Linked DNA regions of Homo sapiens: region 1 is linked to region 2. Evidence: promoter capture Hi-C in human tissues and cell types (Jung and others, 2019). All regions are on one chromosome and are shown on one strand. The core of a region is centred on a gene start or on the middle of the fragment in contact, and the rest is flanking DNA. Distances in the headings are between cores, read along the strand shown. Region 1 overlaps MOB3B (MOB kinase activator 3B). Region 2 holds the start of PLAA (phospholipase A2 activating protein).

What was found. The method cuts DNA at HindIII sites, captures the fragments that hold promoters and counts their contacts. A contact is called where the count stands out against the background at its distance.
Region 1: a fragment that was not itself captured here is called in contact with the fragment with the promoter of PLAA in region 2 in 1 of the 25 tissues and cell types used here (dorsolateral prefrontal cortex).

Annotation. Positions count from the first base shown.
Region 1 is chr9:27,423,880-27,427,715 of GRCh38, reverse strand. The region is part of intron 2 of MOB3B (MOB kinase activator 3B); the gene reads left to right. Among named protein-coding and RNA genes, the nearest start is that of IFNK, 98 kb to the left of the region's middle. The HindIII fragment of the contact is 3,927 bases long and covers 1-3,481 here.
Region 2 is chr9:26,944,614-26,948,891 of GRCh38, reverse strand. It overlaps PLAA (phospholipase A2 activating protein), which reads left to right and starts at 1,650. Exons shown (of 14, transcript NM_001031689.3): 1 at 1,650-1,995. The coding sequence starts at 1,847. It also overlaps a transcript of IFT74 not described here. RefSeq lists enhancers at 1,327-1,636, 1,226-1,899, 1,897-2,156, 1,900-2,575. The HindIII fragment of the contact is 5,571 bases long and covers 346-4,278 here.

The sequences.
Region 1 (3,836 bases), core at 269-2,768, 480 kb before region 2:
ACACAGATTCCAACTAGATCAAAGACAAGGCAAAAAATATGAATAGAATCTTTATTGTTCTGCACATTCCTTTTTTTTATTTGAACTAGGGGAAGATGAGCCACAAAAAAACAATGGAGTAAATCCATCTCTCGAGTTTGTTAGAAAATCTGAGATTTATTAGTGCCTTCTATGTACCTACTTATCCCAGAGGCATGACTACCTGGGCTGACATTAAGGCACTACTAGAGTAACTGGAGCAGAGAGGTGGCTGCATATGAAAAGCTTTTCCTTGTCCTTGCAGACATCTCTCTTCAAACCAGTCACTCTGAAAGAATGTTTGACGTTAGCCACATGGGAATTGTCTGGCAGGTGACGTGGTTCATGCCTGCTTGCATTTCTTTTTCCCTTGGAGGTAACCAGATGCTCTTTGGGAATGCTTGCACATTTGGGCTATATCAGTTCCTGAAGTTTCTCCTTTTGTTGAACATAAAGTCTATGGGTTGTACTAAGGAGGCTTAGCCCTGGCCTTCTGGTGGGTGGGAAAAAAAATGGAACTAGCACTGCTTTAGGTCTGCATCAAGGTGCCCTGAACTCTGATGCAGGTAGGCAGGAAGTCAAGCCTTGGAGGCATTTTTCACTCCCTGCCCTGGAATTCTGGGATCTGCTTTCAGGAGAGCATGTAGCCCTTGCTCTGCCTTTGCTCATGGCAAACTTGGATGTTCTCTTCCTAAATTGGCACCTAGAATAATCCAGTGTGTGCTTGCAGATTCATCTTGCCCACACAAGCATGGGATTCTGCAAGAAAAATCAAGCATCCCGCCTATTCCATTACCCTCCATCTCTCTGTACTTGTCATGAACTCTGAGAGCTTGCTTTTAAGCACATGGGGGTGGAGGTGGGAGGCGGGGATTATTCTGACTGAAACCAGTCCTCCAAGTCTAGGCAGTAGGAGGCTGCAGAAAAGGAAATAGTGCAAGCCTGGGAAGTGAGTCTTGGGGGAACCTAGAGGATCTCATTATTTTCCCCTTGGATTCTGAGTCGGGCAGGGGGGGACAGTGTCATGTATTATTCTGAGATTAGATATCAGCTGAGCCTGGACTCCTTTGAAGAAGCAGCAGCTGCTTCTAGGCATGAGGTAGAGCTCTGACAGGCAATGGCCATGACGCTCTGGAGCGAGCTTCAGAAATCCCTGCAGGGGTAGCATTGTGTGCCCAAACAAAAGATTCACTTCACAGTAGCTTGGTCACCTGCCTGGACCTCTGTGTGCATAAGCTTTGCCAATACACATGATATCTCAACTGATGCAGGCTTGAAAAACAGTGTATGTCCCCTAGACCTCTCCCTGCACCCCAACACTATACCTTCCTGTTCTGCTCATGCCAAGCAAAAATGAAAACAAAACAAAACGTATAACCCCTTTCCTTCCTATTTGGTGCTTGTAACTGAGAAAATTAGGTTTGAGTAACACTCAATGTACATGACTTTATTTATACCAAGTTAAACAAATTAAGAGTGTGGGCTCTGGTATCAACACAGGATAGGTTGGAATCCCAGTTTTGCCACTTCCTGGCTTACTAAGTCTCTGTGTCCTCATAGGTAAAATGGGGGATAACAGTAGCACTTACCTCCTAAGATTTACTGAGAGGATGAAATGAAACCATATATTTAAAGGCTTAGCTGTGGTAAGCACTGTGTAAATATTCAACTCCTCCTGCTTTTCCATAAAGAAACAGAGCACCCTCCTCCTTCTGCTGGGTGAATCAGGGCTATTTCGTCTAACGTCTAATGGATAAGTCAGTTTGCCGTCACTCTTCCTTCCTTACCTATGACTTTTCCAGTCCCTCATTTCAGGCCCTTTGTGGTTTGATTGATGAAAAGATGGTAGAATGTAAGCTTGAAATACATTGTTTGGAAATACCTTGGGGAGGGGGATGCTAGGAAAAGGGAAAGGAAGAGAAGGCTGACAAAAGAGCCTCATGCCTTCTAATGAACACACTGAACCCTTGACCCCTTTTAGACATAAGCCCACTGCATTGGACTTTGGGTTATAAATATAGGACTACAATCCATTATTCTGAAGTCTAGAAAAAGCCTGAAAACCATGAGTGTTTTCATCTGCATGAAACTATTTGTATTCTTTATTTATCTAACTTAATATGAACATTCATGTTTCCCTGAAAAGGTATTAATGTGCTTGATTCCAAGGTGCTGCCCCAGGCTCTGCTGGGGGTGTTATGTAATGGGTACTATATGTATCACAGCACCATTCTGAATTCTGAGAAATCCTGAATTTTAGAAACAGATCTGCCCCCAGTGACTTTGTTTTTTTGTTGTTGTTGTTTTGTTTTTTTTTTTTTTTTGAGACAGTTTTGCTCTTGTTGCCCAGGCTGGAGTGCAATGGCGCGCTCTCGGCTCACCGCAACCTCCGCCTCCTGGGTTCAAGCGATTCTCCTGCCTCAGCCTCCCGAGTAGCTGGGATTGCAGGCGTGCTCCATCATGCCTGGCTAATTTTGTATTTTTAGTAGACACAGGGTTTCTCCATGTTGGTCAGGCTGGTCTTGAACTCCTGACCTCAGGTGATCCACCTGCCTCGGCCTCCCAAAGTGCTGGGATTACAAGCACAAGCCACCGCGCCTGGATGCCCCCAGTTACTTTGAATGAGGATTTTCCTGTAACAAAAACTAACTGGAGGTAGTTTAGTTTAAGCAAGCAAGCAATAAATTATGGGTGGTGGAGAAAAATTTACTTCTAAGATTACAGGCATATTTCACAGAACCCTAGAGCAGAATGCAGCTGTCTTGGGAAGAGGCTGGAAGAGACCTGGAAGGTTGAGGACAGTTTCTGGAAGGTTTCTCTCTAGAGTTTTGGTTCTTACGACACAAGTATGGAACATGGATGGCTACTACTGATGCACCAACATAACTCTTGTGTTCTAATCTGTGGCAAATGGTAGGAACTTACTATGTATGAGTTGATTGGCAGATTGGCTTTCCAGTCTGGTATATTCTTTGCTCGGTGGCCAGTACAAATTGCATTATCCCATTAAGCTCACCATCAGCATTTGCCCTTTGTAGAGTCTGCGCACCCACTGGATTGGGCAGAAGTCATGTTGACTGAGTAGTCATGGGTCCCCATGCAGTTTATGATTGGCCCCCGGTGGTTCTTTCACTGGGTTTGGCAATAGCAAGAATCACTCAGAGTTTATCTTCCTCGCAGTTCTGGGGTTTGATTCATATAAGAACAGATGAGAAATGAAGTAAATGGGAGAAGGAAAGCAAAAAGCAATTGCTCTGAAATGACTCACTGGGGACCTGCCCTGTTCCTGTGTATCTCTTTGGGCCTTCAGTTTGAGCCTCATACACATTATTCTGTGTCCGTGGCTAGCACGTCTTGGGACATGGCTTCATTTGGTCATGGTTATTGGGATGTTTGGGATGAACCTCTAAATCAGCCTAATCATTTTTCTTCTAAGTTCATTGTCTGTAGTCTTAGTGTCTTTAAGAAGCCACAGAAACAGTAAATGTCCTTTTTCCATTTTTCTTCTCTTACTTAACAGCTTCATACCTAAGCATAGGGGATGTCAAGAGGCTAACTCTATGTGAGTGATGATTAACTGTCAGGAAGCCAGAGCTTTAAGATGCGTATGTAGTCAGCATGCACAGACATTTACACTGTATTGCCTTGAGACTAAGGGCACAGACTCTGAAGCCAGCCTGTCTAGGTTCATGTCCTAATTCCACCACTTACTAGCTATGTAACCTGGAGAAAGTAACTTAATTTTTCTGTGTCCTTATTTCTTCACCTGTAAAGTGGGCAGATTAGCACCTCCTTCGTATAGTTGTTGAGAGGATTAA
Region 2 (4,278 bases), core at 401-2,900:
CAGGGAATTGTGACAAATTCGAAATGTCTAGAGTAAGAGAGATAACAGAGGGAGATGAATCTAGTAAAACAGATTAGGGAGATTGTGTGAAAGGCCCTATGTAATGCTGTACTATAAGAATGGAAAGCCGGCCAGGCGTGGTGGCTCACGCTTATAATCCAGCACTTTGGAAGGCAGAGGAGGGCAGATTATGAGGTCAAGAGATTGAGACTATCCTGGCCAACATGGTGAAACTCGTTTCTACTAAAAACACAAAATTTAGCTGGGCATGGTGGCGCGCTCCTGTAGTCCCAGCTACTCGGGAGGCTGAGGCAGGAATCGCTTGAACCCGGGAGGCGAGGGTTGCAGTGAGCCGAGATCGCGCCACTGCACTCAGCCTGGCAGCAGAGCGACACTCCGTCTCAAAAAAAAAAAAAAAAAAAAAAAAAAAAAAAAAAAAAAAATAATGGAAAGCCATCACAGGTTGTCAAACAGAGAAAAAACAATTAAGTGTATATTTCAGAAAGATAATTATATTTTAATGTGTAGGATTGGCTGGAGAGAAGGGGTAGAAAGGCCAGAGAAATGTTGAAATAATTTAAGTAGGACTAATTGGTACAGATTTCTAACAGATAGCTAGAAATACAGATCTAGAGTTTGGAGAAGACAATATGGGAATACAGCTCTAGAAATAAGCCAAGTAGTAAATAATCCACCCAGGGAGGGGATATGATAGCAAAGAAGTATCAAAAGTCAGCATTTCAAGAATGATCTCCCAAACCAGGGGAAAAGTGATTCCAAACCTAGAGTAGGAGTTTTAGGAAGGGAGAAGTCAGAAAAGTGTGAATTGGGCTTAGCAATTTAGAAAGGTTTGTGGAAAAGTGTAGTTGGATGCGAGAGAATAGCGGATGGGAAGAAAACAAAGTAAGGAGACAGGTCATGTTTACCCTGGCACTCAATAAGGTCTGATAATGACTAGCAAGTAGCACCACGGGTGGGTGGGCGGCGGGGTTGTTAAAAATACGTATCTCAGCTCTAACTCAGACCTACTGAATCAGAATCTACATTTTAACAAGCCGCCAGAGAAAAGTAGTTATACCTTTAAAAAATTGACTTGGACCACCGTATTTGCTAAATTTGACAACAGAGAGTAGGAGATTCAGATAACTTGAAACGGAGGAATAGTTCAATGATTAATAGTTCCCAATTTGGCCTCAAGCTTTCTCGTTTTAATTGAAAAACAAGGTTAACTTGCAAAAACCTCGAGATTCTCAGGGAAAAGCAGTGAGGATGACCTAACAGTAGACACCAAACAACCTCACTCAGCCATTCCGCCATGCCCAGCGCGAAAGACTCAGGTTTAAAATATCCGGATTCGGCGCGCCGGATGTCCACGCCAGCTGGCGCGGCATTATGGGAATTGTAGTCCCGGCCCGCTTCCCGATTTACCACAAACTGTTGGGCCCGGAGTCGGAAGAGACCCGGGTTTGGGAAGGACCCCAGGGTCAGGCGTCCTGGTGGAAGGGCGGGCCTCTTTCTCTCTTGCTCAGCAGGGAGTCCAGAGCCCTGGAGGAAAGCCAGCTCAGCTCCGCATCGGCGTCGGCGGTTGGGACGCACACACTCTGCGTCATGGAGGGCTGAGGCCGATGATGAATTCCGGAGTGCCTGTCAGGCTTGCTGTGTCACTCGGCCCGCTCGGCGCGCCCCTTCCCAGCCGCCCTTCCGTACCGGCTCTCGGGCTCTTCCGGTCTCCGGCCGCCCCTTACCTGCAGGCTCTTCTCCCGCCGCGGCCCGGCGCTCTCCGAGTCGCCCCTGCGGACTGGTCTCGCACAGTGCCTGGGCACCGGGCGCCAGACAGACACTGGCCATGACGAGCGGCGCAACCAGGTACCGGCTGAGCTGCTCGCTCCGGGGCCACGAGCTGGACGTACGGGGCCTGGTGTGCTGCGCCTATCCGCCGGGAGCCTTTGTGTCCGTGTCCCGAGACCGCACCACCCGCCTCTGGGCCCCAGACAGGTGAGCGCTGGGAGTCGGGTTGCCCCGGCTGTGTTGCACGCTTCCCGGAGAGTGGAAGGAGAGTGACCCTTCCCTGTCAGTCCTGCCGTCTCTCTCTCCCCCCAGCCTTCCCTCTGCTCTCCGCTCCCTTCCAATTCTCAGACTATTAGAACTCTGTAAGAAACCATCGGGATTTAAGTGGAAAGAGCACAGGGTTGGGGGACCAAAGACCTGCCTTGTTGTGCTAACTTGACCACAGACGAGTCTCCTACCTTTTGGGCCTTCAGTTTTTGGACGATGATCTCCCAAGTTTCTTTTAGACTTGAAAATTTACTGATTGCAGTTGCACCCTCCGAAGTGAGGTAGTTTGAAGGCATCTGAAATGTCCTCTTTTTTTTTTTTTTTCGAAGAAGATGCTCTGTAGTCTTCTGTAAAATTTAATTTTTGAAGACTTTAGTTCTCAAAAATTGCACTGGTGAATCCTCTTTTCGTCCAGGTTAGAATTTTAGTCTGTGGTCTGTGCTGGTCCTGAGGGAGTGAAACCTCTCGGATGTTTTGTTTCTGTGCATGTGCTGTTTCTTGAGGAGAAGCAGCATCCATTGCCTTCAAAGGATTTATCAGAAGGGTTCACGAACCAAAAAAAAAAAGAAGAAAAAGGTTAGGAATCAGTCCTGATCGAGTTCACGGGTTCAGCCCTGATTTGGCTGGTTGTAACAGGATATTTAAGACCTAGAAGACAGATTGCAGTTCAGAGAAAGAAAAATTGAGGTTAGTTATTTTGTTATTTAGTAGGTCTCCCACTGCTAGAGATTTTAGAATTTGAGTCACCATCCATAAATTCAGTTGATAACTGTTGAGTGCCTCCTCTTTGTTTGGGATACTGGAGAGGAATAAAGACAGACAAGTTGCCAGTGTTTCTGGAGCTTTCTTACAGTCTGATGGGGAAGATAGATTAAAAAACAAGCCAATAAATAATTAAAAACTGGCATGTGAAGAAAACATACAGTTAATTAGGTGGAGAGATATATTAAAGGAAGCCTCTCTGAGGAGTTGTTTGTTTAAAGTTGACATTTGAAGCATGAGATGGATGGAGCTGGTCGTGGAAGAGCAAATAGGGAGGATTGAATTGGAAGAGCATTCCAGGCAGCTGGAGGAGCAAACAGGAGGGAATTAGCTGTGAGGTGAGGGCAGGTTTTGAGGCTGGCAAGAGCCAGGTTATGGAGTTTGCAGATGGAAGCCTTCAAATAGTTTCAAGCAGGGAGCAACATGATCTGATTTCCGTGTTGAGAAGTTTCTGCTAGCTGATGGTAGAGAATAGATTGAGAAGGGATAAGTGTAGAAGTGGGTTTGCTTGGAGGCTTTTGAAGTAGTATAATCAACACAAGATGGTCCACTAGGCTAGGGATAGTATAGAGCAAATTCCTGTATTGAATTGAATGAGATGATCTCTAAAGATCTAACTCTAAAATTCTATAATATCCAAAACTACTTAGTAATACTAATATGGAACTTTTTGTTTGAGTACAGTTATTAAGTTTTTGCCTTTAAAATTGAATCCAGTAGAAGCATAAGCCCAGTAGAATATAACCATTGCAGTAAGGAGTATAATCAAGGATGCCTGTTTTAATAATGGAATCCTGTCATTAAACTTTTGGGACTGTACTAGTTTGACAAGGGTTTAATCACTGGAGTGGTTGTGCTTACCAGGAACTTGAAGAACTTTGGGCTGAACTGATTCTCTATTTGAAAAGTGATTTTGTTGTTCATTGAACTATTGATTTTTTTTTTTTGAGACAGAGTTTTGCTCTTGTTGCCCAGGCTGGAGTGCAATGGCACAATCTTGGCTCACTGCAACCTCCGCCTCCGGGGTTCAAGCGATTCTCTTGCCTCAGCCTCCCAAGAAGCTGTGATTACAGGCATGTGCCACCATGCCCGGCTAATTTTGTATTTTTAGTAGAGATGGGGTTTCTCCATGTTGGTCAGGCTGGTCTTGAACTCCTGACCTCAGGTGATCTGCCCACCTTGGCCTCCCAGTGTTGGGATTACAGGCGTGAGCCACCACGCCTGGCCGAACTCATGATTTTTTTGTTTTTGTTTTTCAAAATTCATTCCTGTATGTATTTATCTAACACTGATGAAGAACTTGCATTTTGCCACAGTGTGTGTTAGTGCGTAGTGAGATAAGATTATTTAGTCTCTCATATCCTGCTGGTTAGGTTAGCAAGCTTGTCCATCCTGTGGCCCATGGGTGGCTGTAAGAGTGGCCCAACACAAATTTCATAAACTTTCTTAAAACATTATGAG